Regions from separate parts of the Homo sapiens genome. Here regions 2 and 3 are each linked to region 1. The links are contacts of gene promoters, found by promoter capture Hi-C in blood cells and fetal thymus (Javierre and others, 2016). All regions are on one chromosome and are shown on one strand. The core of a region is centred on a gene start or on the middle of the fragment in contact, and the rest is flanking DNA. Distances in the headings are between cores, read along the strand shown. Region 1 holds the start of RTN4RL2 (reticulon 4 receptor like 2). Region 2 overlaps LPXN (leupaxin). Region 3 overlaps ZFP91 (ZFP91 zinc finger protein, atypical E3 ubiquitin ligase).

Evidence for each region. Contacts are between HindIII fragments. The CHiCAGO score rates a contact against its expected background, and 5 or more counts as called.
Region 2: a contact is called between a fragment that was not itself captured here and the fragment with the promoter of RTN4RL2 in region 1, in 1 of 17 cell types (M0 macrophages). The highest score is 5.3, in M0 macrophages.
Region 3: a contact is called between a fragment that was not itself captured here and the fragment with the promoter of RTN4RL2 in region 1, in 1 of 17 cell types (non-activated CD4 T cells). The highest score is 5.9, in non-activated CD4 T cells.

The regions. Positions count from the first base shown.
Region 1 is chr11:57,459,194-57,461,893 of GRCh38, forward strand. It overlaps RTN4RL2 (reticulon 4 receptor like 2), which reads left to right and starts at 1,335. Exons shown (of 3, transcript NM_178570.3): 1 at 1,335-1,703. The coding sequence starts at 1,673. RefSeq lists silencers at 183-242, 1,342-1,611. The HindIII fragment of the contact is 14,932 bases long and covers 1-2,700 here.
Region 2 is chr11:58,572,870-58,575,569 of GRCh38, forward strand. The region is part of intron 1 of LPXN (leupaxin); the gene reads right to left. Among named protein-coding and RNA genes, the nearest start is that of LPXN, 1.6 kb to the right of the region's middle. The HindIII fragment of the contact is 1,781 bases long and covers 556-2,336 here.
Region 3 is chr11:58,595,942-58,598,641 of GRCh38, forward strand. The region is part of intron 2 of ZFP91 (ZFP91 zinc finger protein, atypical E3 ubiquitin ligase); the gene reads left to right. All of the region lies in intron 2 of ZFP91-CNTF (ZFP91-CNTF readthrough (NMD candidate)), which reads left to right. Among named protein-coding and RNA genes, the nearest start is that of ZFP91-CNTF, 18 kb to the left of the region's middle. The HindIII fragment of the contact is 2,384 bases long and covers 117-2,500 here.

The sequences.
Region 1 (2,700 bases), core at 85-2,584:
GAGCAGAGAATGAATGGGAAGAATAAGACCAACATTTATCAAGAGCCGACTGTATGCCAGGCACTGCATTGGACCCTGGCACGGATAGGAAAGGAGGAGCCGCGGCGCGGGCAGCGGGGCGAGGGGCTTCTGTGCTCGCGGGAGCGGCAGCCCAGGGGGCTCAGCAGCCCCGGCACCGCCGCACCTGAGGCTCCAGCAGCCCCAACCCCGCCAGCGCTGCCTGGCCACCGTACCCGAAGCGGCTCCCCCGAGGGCCCCGAGCCTATCCTACGCCGGGGCGGCTCCGCGGACGCGCCGGGCCGAGTCAAGACCTGGGTCAACCGCCCTGCAGCCTTTGTAGGGAAGTGCCTAGGTGATGGGTCTGCTGATACCGCCTGTGACCAGGCCATGAAGGGCCAGAGGGGCTCCAGTGAGACCATAATCCGCCCCTCTTTAAAAGGGGGTAGAGGAAGTTCACGCGAAGCCAACAGTCTTCTCCCCAGCTTTGGGTCCTCTCCTGCACCCCCGCGGGAGATAAGGTCTCCCCTCCCGGACACATCATACATACACAAAAAAACGCACACACTCGCACGCGCGCCCATCTCGCACCCGCTTGTAAATGCACTAAGGGGCATACACACACCGGGCACATATTTCTTTCCACCCATCCCCAAGATCGCAAGCGCAAAACCTCGCACAGCCTCACGTTTCCCACCAGCTCAGACATGCACGCTGGCGGACTTTCAGCGGCTCACCCGTGTGCACACTCACGTGCCCCCCCCCCCGCTTCCCCAAGCCCGTACAAAGGGTAACGGGCAAGCATCCTGAGTCACACCTGCACAAGCATCCTTGCGCGCACGTGCACGCTCATATGCACTCGATCTTGCACGCACAAACTCTTGCATATACTATTCTTATAGTCGCACACTGGGCTTGAGGTCTGGGAGTGGAAGGAAAAGTGGAATCTTGGAGCTGTCCCAGGGGACAGAAATGCTGGAGGCTGGGACACTGGCGCGAGGGACGCGGCTGGGGGCGGGGGAGGGGGTGACCCAGAAGCTCATCTTCTCCTGGAAAGTTGGGAGGGGGGAACAGGACAAGTCCACGGCGTTCCTCTAAACTACCGCATTCCCCCAAGAAGGGATTTCTCTAGAAGAGTGGCGCCGCGAGGACGATCGAACACAGTCCTCCGGGTCGCTTAAGCGGGGGGGAGGGGGGCGGGGTGGAGGGGGTTAGAAAGCCGCTCCCGCCTCCTAGTGGTCGAGAAAGGGTTAAGTCGGCAAGCCAGCAAACGAGGGAGGAGCCAGCGAGTGCGGGAAGGAGTGGGGGTGGTTGGGAAGAGCTTCCTCGCTGTCCCCACTCTCCCTCGGCTAGCAGCCTGGGCACACGGACAGACGGACTGACGGACTCTCGAGCGGACAGCGCAGCTAGCGGGGCGCGGGCGCTGGGCGTCGACGGCCAGCCCCAGCCTTCCCCGCCCCGTCGCGCCCCGCCCCGTCCCGTCGGGGCCGATGGCTCCTCCCGAGGCCCGCAGCCCGGGCGGCGCAGGGTAGAGCGCCGCGGCCCGGCCACGCAGCCCGGGGACTCCCGGGCCCTCCCGGAGCCCCGCGGGGTCCCCGCCGTGCATCCGGCGGGCTCAGGGAGCGAGTGGGAGCGCCCTCCCCCCGCTGCCCCCTCCCCCGAGCATCGAGACAAGATGCTGCCCGGGCTCAGGCGCCTGCTGCAAGGTAAGAACGCCAGCGGCGGGAGAGCGGAGGGCATCCTGGGGAGAGAAGCAGGGCGTCCCCTCTTTCAGGGATTGAGGGTGGGGCAGTTGGGGAGGTGGGGTAACCTGGGGAAGGGGAAAAGCTCAGCGCTGGGGCCGCGCCCCCGCCGCCAGGGCTGTTCTCAGCAGGAGGGCACTTGGCTGGGAGCCCGCGGGCGCGTGCGAGGAGCTCGTGACCGAGGTGGGACGCAGGGGGCAGGTGGACCCGGCCCGGAGCGGGGAGGGAGGCTCAGGTTCCGCTGTCCCCGCTCCACCTGCTCCGGGGGACGCTGAGGACTCGGGCCGGCTGGGGAAGCGCCGACTCAGCAACTCCTCCTGCCCGGTGCCTCAGCACTTTCTGGCCACCTGGGAAGACAGGAGATGTGGGTAGGGGGCTGTCTGGGGAGGTAGGAGGCGCAGAGGGAAATCCAAGTGGCCCTCTCTGGTAGGAGAGATGGAGGGCGCTAGAAAGAGGATAGTTCTACTGATTGAGTGACAGATAAGGGTGTGGGCCAGAGACTGGGGGTGGGGTGGGGAGGGGTCAGGGGGAGAGGGATAGGAAGGAGAACTCAAAGATGGAGAAAGTGGTGAGGGAAGCTCAAAGGAGGAGGGAGATGGAGCGGGGGAGGGGGAGAAGGAATAAAGGTTAGATGGGAAAAGCGTGGAGGGAAGTGGGACCCAGGTGAAGACCAAGGAAGAGGGAAGGAGAGGAAAGACCAGATCAGGGGAGGGATGGGAAGAAGACTATGGACAGGGACCCAGAATCCTGGGATGGAGGTAGCGGGAAAGAGAATCAGGACTGGGACCCTGGGGACTGGAATGGAAAAGGAGAATGGAAAGATCAGAAACCAGAGAAGGATGGGGATGGTGACTAGAGAAGGGGTATCAGGAACCGGCGAAGAGGGTTGGAGACAGGGAACCATGGATGGGAGAGGGGCTGGAGAGGAGGGAAGAGGAGGAGGAAGAGAAAGGCTGAGAGA
Region 2 (2,700 bases), core at 196-2,695, 1.1 Mb after region 1:
GATGGGTATATCAGAATTCATTAAACTATTTTCTCTACTTTTGCATACTTAAATTTCTTTATAATAGAAGTTTTTTAAAAAGAAGGACAAATAGGCCGGGCATGGTGGCTCATGCCTGTAAATCCCAGCACTTTGAGAGGCCGAGGCGGGCGGATCGCCTGAGGTTGGGAGTTCGAGACCAGCCTGACCAACATGGAGAAAACCCGTCTCTACTAAAAACACAAAATTAGCCAGGCATGGCGGCACATGTCTGCAATCCCAGCTACTCAGGAAGGCTGAGGCAGGCGAAACGCTTGAACCTGGGAAGCAGAGGTTGCGGTGAGCCGAGACCGTGCCATTGCACTCCAGCCTGGGCAACAAGAGCAAAACTCCGTCTCAAAAAAAAAAAAAAAGAAAAGAAAAGAAAGAAAAAGAAAAGAAAACTAAGGTAGAAAAAGAAAGAAAACTTTTTGCCTCAGATTTTTATTAGCCAGACCCCACACCAAATTTGAGAATTTTGAATTTTTATTCTACATCTTTCAATTATGCTAGAGCCCCTTTCTTTTCTATTTTCTAAGCTTTGCTCTAACTAGAAGCCAAAGATCCTCCTGAGCTCAAAATAAAAAGCCATTTACAATAAAGATTATAAGAGAGAAGAAACCATACCACAAAGAGTAGGAAGTTGCCCTCAGAAGCACCAGCTAACCAAAGTTATCAAAACCCTTCTTTCTGGGTCATGAGTTATAGGCTTTTCTCTTCCTGTTTCATATGAGTGTGCATATCACCAACACTGTGAGGTTATTATGCCTTTTGCCAGATTTTGTAATTTGAAGATGACTAATTTCAGTATGACAAATATGGGATTCCTGGAGAGTGGGGGCGGGGGAAGTGGGGACTAGACTGAAGACTCCATAATTCTTCTCTGTAGTCTTTTACTGTGGAGATGAAATAATATCAATATTAACATGAAAGGAGTAAAGTGAGGTCTCTTGGGAGTCTCTGAGGGTTGCATGGATTTCATTCGGAGGCAGAATCTGCTCCTGGTTCCTCTTTATCTATCATGCCTAATGCCTACGTAATGAGGGTTTAGGTAAAACCTTCTGGGTGTATACAAGCTGCTAGCCTCTGAGGCACCACTGCAGACAGGAAATATTTGCTCACTTGAGCCAACCTGTCCTCGATGCCATTTCTCTGCCAGCAGGAAGAAAGATCCACACCAAGTCTCAAGGGTAGTTACTGGGCTGATGACAATTTGAAGAAACTGTTGAAGTGTAGCCATCAACAGCCTGTGGAGACGTAGCCAACTGGATAATCTGCACAAATATTAGCTTCCAGGCTACTTGGTACTTTCTGTATTTCCAGACAAGATTTACCTAACATTTAGCCTGCTCAGGAGATGCAAAACAATATAAGTTTCTGTTAAATCTGGGTTACTTCATTGGACAGACACCAGAACCAATAAACTTCTAAAATAGGAGAGCACCTTGTTGCTTAGTTTTGGTGTCAGGTGTTCCCGACAGTGACATTGAAAAAGTTATTTTGTTTTTCTTAGTTTTCTCATCTGAAAAAGAAGTGGATAACACCTATTTCAGAGGGTTGCTGCAGACACTAAAATGATTAACATATGTAAAAATGTCTAGTTTTTGCTTGATTTACTAAATAAGTATTAGTTTCCTTTTGAATTATTTGCCATGAAAGCCTTTCGGTGTCCCCTCCATCCCCCCCAAAAAAAAGAAAGAGAAAAAGAAAAAAGGCCCTAGCACTACTAGAACTCAAGCAGAAATTCACATTCTCCCAGCACTCACGTAGGATAAGAAATAGAATTCTACCCCAAGTCCAAAAAAGAGTCTGGCCCAATATCAAAATAGACTTTACCTCCAAAGCAGTTTGATATTTATTAAACACTACCTTTTTCTCTTCATTAACATCTCTTGCCTCCTGGTAATTTGCCCTTTACTTTTCCTCTGTTTCTCCAGCTTTGAAATCACACGCCATTTTTTTTAAGACAATGTAACAATGTGCAAGATATTTTTTGTTGTTGTTTTTTGCACTTTTGACATACCCTATCCCCAAACACACCCCAAACCAGGACACTGTGGAATTAATACAGTTTGGAAATTGGGTATAGTTTAGTGACTCAGTGTTAGTTAAGATGCTGGCAACAGATGTTGGCAAAGGCTATGGAATGAGTCCCAAGAATGACAAACCTTACATTACTCCAAAGGTTTGAAATCCAGGATTTCTCTGGTTAATATGGTTAATAGTTCCACTGCTGGTTTTAATTGTCTTAGAGTGGAAGGAGGTGTCATATTTTCAGGCCCTAGTAATCTCTTCCTTCAGAATTCTTCTGAATAAAAAGCTTAGCAACAAAATCACTAGAGTTAGAGTGCTATGCCTTCTTGATTTAATACTAAAACATGGAACAAATGAAACCACTCTGGCCTTTTTCCAACCTCTACAGATCCCTCATTCTTATACTTCTAGTCCGTCTTTTCTTCCTCATAACACCCCAATTCCCTTTTTGCTCTTTCTTTTCCTCCTCAAATCATATCTCTGCATTGTCTCGCTATGTGGCCACCCTTGATCTCCAGTGACCTCCAAAGGGCAAAACGCCCATAACAAGACAACAACTGCAGTAACAATCCAGTCCAAAAGTATTTGCCAAGAGTTTATTCCGCGGTTAGCACCAAACTCTCCATCTATTTTGCCACTGCAAACAGT
Region 3 (2,700 bases), core at 59-2,558, 1.1 Mb after region 1:
ATGTACAGTTGGCCCTTGAACAACATGGTAGGGTTAGGGGCACCACCTCCCCCTCACAAACAAAAACCTGCATTTAACTTCCCAGAAACTTTACTAATAGCCTGCTGTTGACCAGAAGCTTTATCAATAACATAAAGTCAACTAATTCATATTTTATATGTGTATTATATCCTGTATTCTTACAGTAAAATAATCTGGAGAGAAGAAAATTTATTTAAAAAAACCATAAGGAAGAGAATATATTTACTATTCATTAAGTGTAAGTGGATCGTTATAAGGTCTTTGTCCTCTTCTTCACATTGAGTAGGCTAAGGAGGAGGAAGAAGAAGAATCGTTACTCTTATCTCAGGGGGTGACAGAGGTAGAAGGAGTGGCAGGAACATTTGGCGTAGCTTTACAGAAATACAATTTCTGCCTGACTTCTTTTTTGCTTTTTCGTTTCTCTACAAATGTTTCTACACTTTAACCATTTGCTTTAGTTTCAGGGCAGATATCATAGAAGGGTTCCTGTCATAAAAGGAAGTCAAAAGCAGTCTTGAATAATTGGAACCTTTCTGCCAGAATTTCTAAGTTTTTAATGTTAGTTTGTTTTCTGGCATTGCTGCTTATATGTTGTCTTTCTGATCGTCTGGCCCCTGTTCAAAAGCACTCATCTTCATCATGTCATCTTGTTACTTCCTCTTGTGTGGTGTCTGTTTGCACCTGAATTTATCCAAGATGCTTATTTTTAAAGGCTTCACCATCACCACCCCACCACCACCTTTTTTTTTTTTTTGCCATATTCACAATCTCTTTCATGATTTCCTTGATTGGCTCTGCCATAAATCCTGTGAAGTCATGCACAACATCTGGACACAATTTTCTCCAGCAGGAATTTTCTATAACGATGGCATCTTCAGTGGTGTAATCCTTCCTGACTTTCATGATGTTCTCTCTATTGGGATTTTCTTACATGGAGTTAACAGTCCTTTTCCATAGAATATCGTGTAATGAGACTTAAAGATTCTTATGACCCGCTGATTGGGAAGGTGAATTAGAGACATTGTGTTTGGGGGGCAAGTAGACCACTTCAACACCTTTGATGTTAAATTCATGAGGTAACCAGGGGCATTGTCCAATATCAAAAGAACCATAAAAGGCAGTCCCTAACTGGCAAGGTACTTTTTTACTTCAGGGGCAAAGCATCAATGGAACCAGTCTAGAAAATTAGTTCTTGTTTTCCTGACCTTTTTGTTGTACCACCAAAAGATTGTTAGTTTTTCTCTTCGAGGCTCAGGAGTTAGTAGCTTTATAGATAAGGGCAGCCCTGATCATAAACCTAACTGCTTTTACACAAAACAGTGGAGTTAGCCTATCCTTTCCTGCTTTAAATCTTGTTGCTTACTTCCCCACCTTACTAATATAATAAATGTCTCTTGTGGCATTTTTTTCTGGACTGGGGTAGTTGCATTAAAAACTTAGGCAGATATCCTTCCTCAGCTGTTTTCTTAACAGTGCCTGGGAACTTGTCTGCTGCCTCTTGGTCAGTAGAAGCTGTTTCTCCTATTATCTTGACATTTTTAAAGCCAAATCTCTTTCTGAAATTATCAAACCATTCTTTGCTGACATTAAATTCTTTCTTCACCTTTCTTTTGCTTTAAGTTGTCATATAATGAGTTTACTTAGAGTCTGTAGGTATGCCTTTCTTATAGCAATTCTGTACCCACATAAAAGCTGCATCTTGAATGTGAGATAAAAGTATTTTGCAAAAACTGCAAGATTTTTGCACCTGCTACTGTAGGTGCAGCAGTGGCTTCACAAATTTCCTTTTCTTCAATACTTTTTATGTTGGATTCATTTATCTTAAAATGGTGAGCAACTGCAGCTACACACCTCAACCTTCTATGCTTATTAAGCAATTCAACTTTTTCTTGTAATACCGTGACTTTTCTCTGCTTCTTGGAAGCACTTCCAGTATCACTAGTGGCAACTCTTATGGGTCCCGTAGTGTTAGTCAAGGTTTCAGGTATTGCTCTAAACATAGTGAAAAATGAGTTAACTGAGAGATACCACTTCTACTGTGACAGTAAATTCACTCAGGTGGTGATGATTATCCTCATGACATTTTAAGCAGATACTTGAAACAGCTGAGCTTGCTGCAATAGCAACAGGAGATAGCTATGAAATTATTATGTACGGAGTTAATTTTATGCAGTTATTCATTAGTACATCTTTACGTTTCTTTACATTTCTCTGGACTTTGGATGATACCATATATAGTCTAAGACTTTGTGTGTGTAAGTTTTGTTGAATTTTAACTTTTTATATTTGTGTATATTTTACAGTAATGTCATCAAATAGAGTGGTATCTATAGTTTATGCATTCATGACATAACTTAATTTTTCAATATTTCTAGGCTACACAGTTTGTCTGCAAGTTTTTTCAAATTGTCACAAATCTCCAAAAAATTTTCTTACATATTTTAAAAAACTGGCGTATGAATGGATCCATGCAGTTCAAAGCTTTGTTGTTCAAGGGTTAACTAACTGTAGTTATATTCACTGTGCCTGCATGTTGCTCATGCAGTGACTAGTATGATGTCTTCCTTTACCCAAGCTAGTATGGCTTTTTTCTCTTATTATTTATGTATCAAGGAACCTCCTCAAGGTTAGCTGCTATTATAAGAAACAACTGGAAATTGTCTTTGAAGTACCACACAG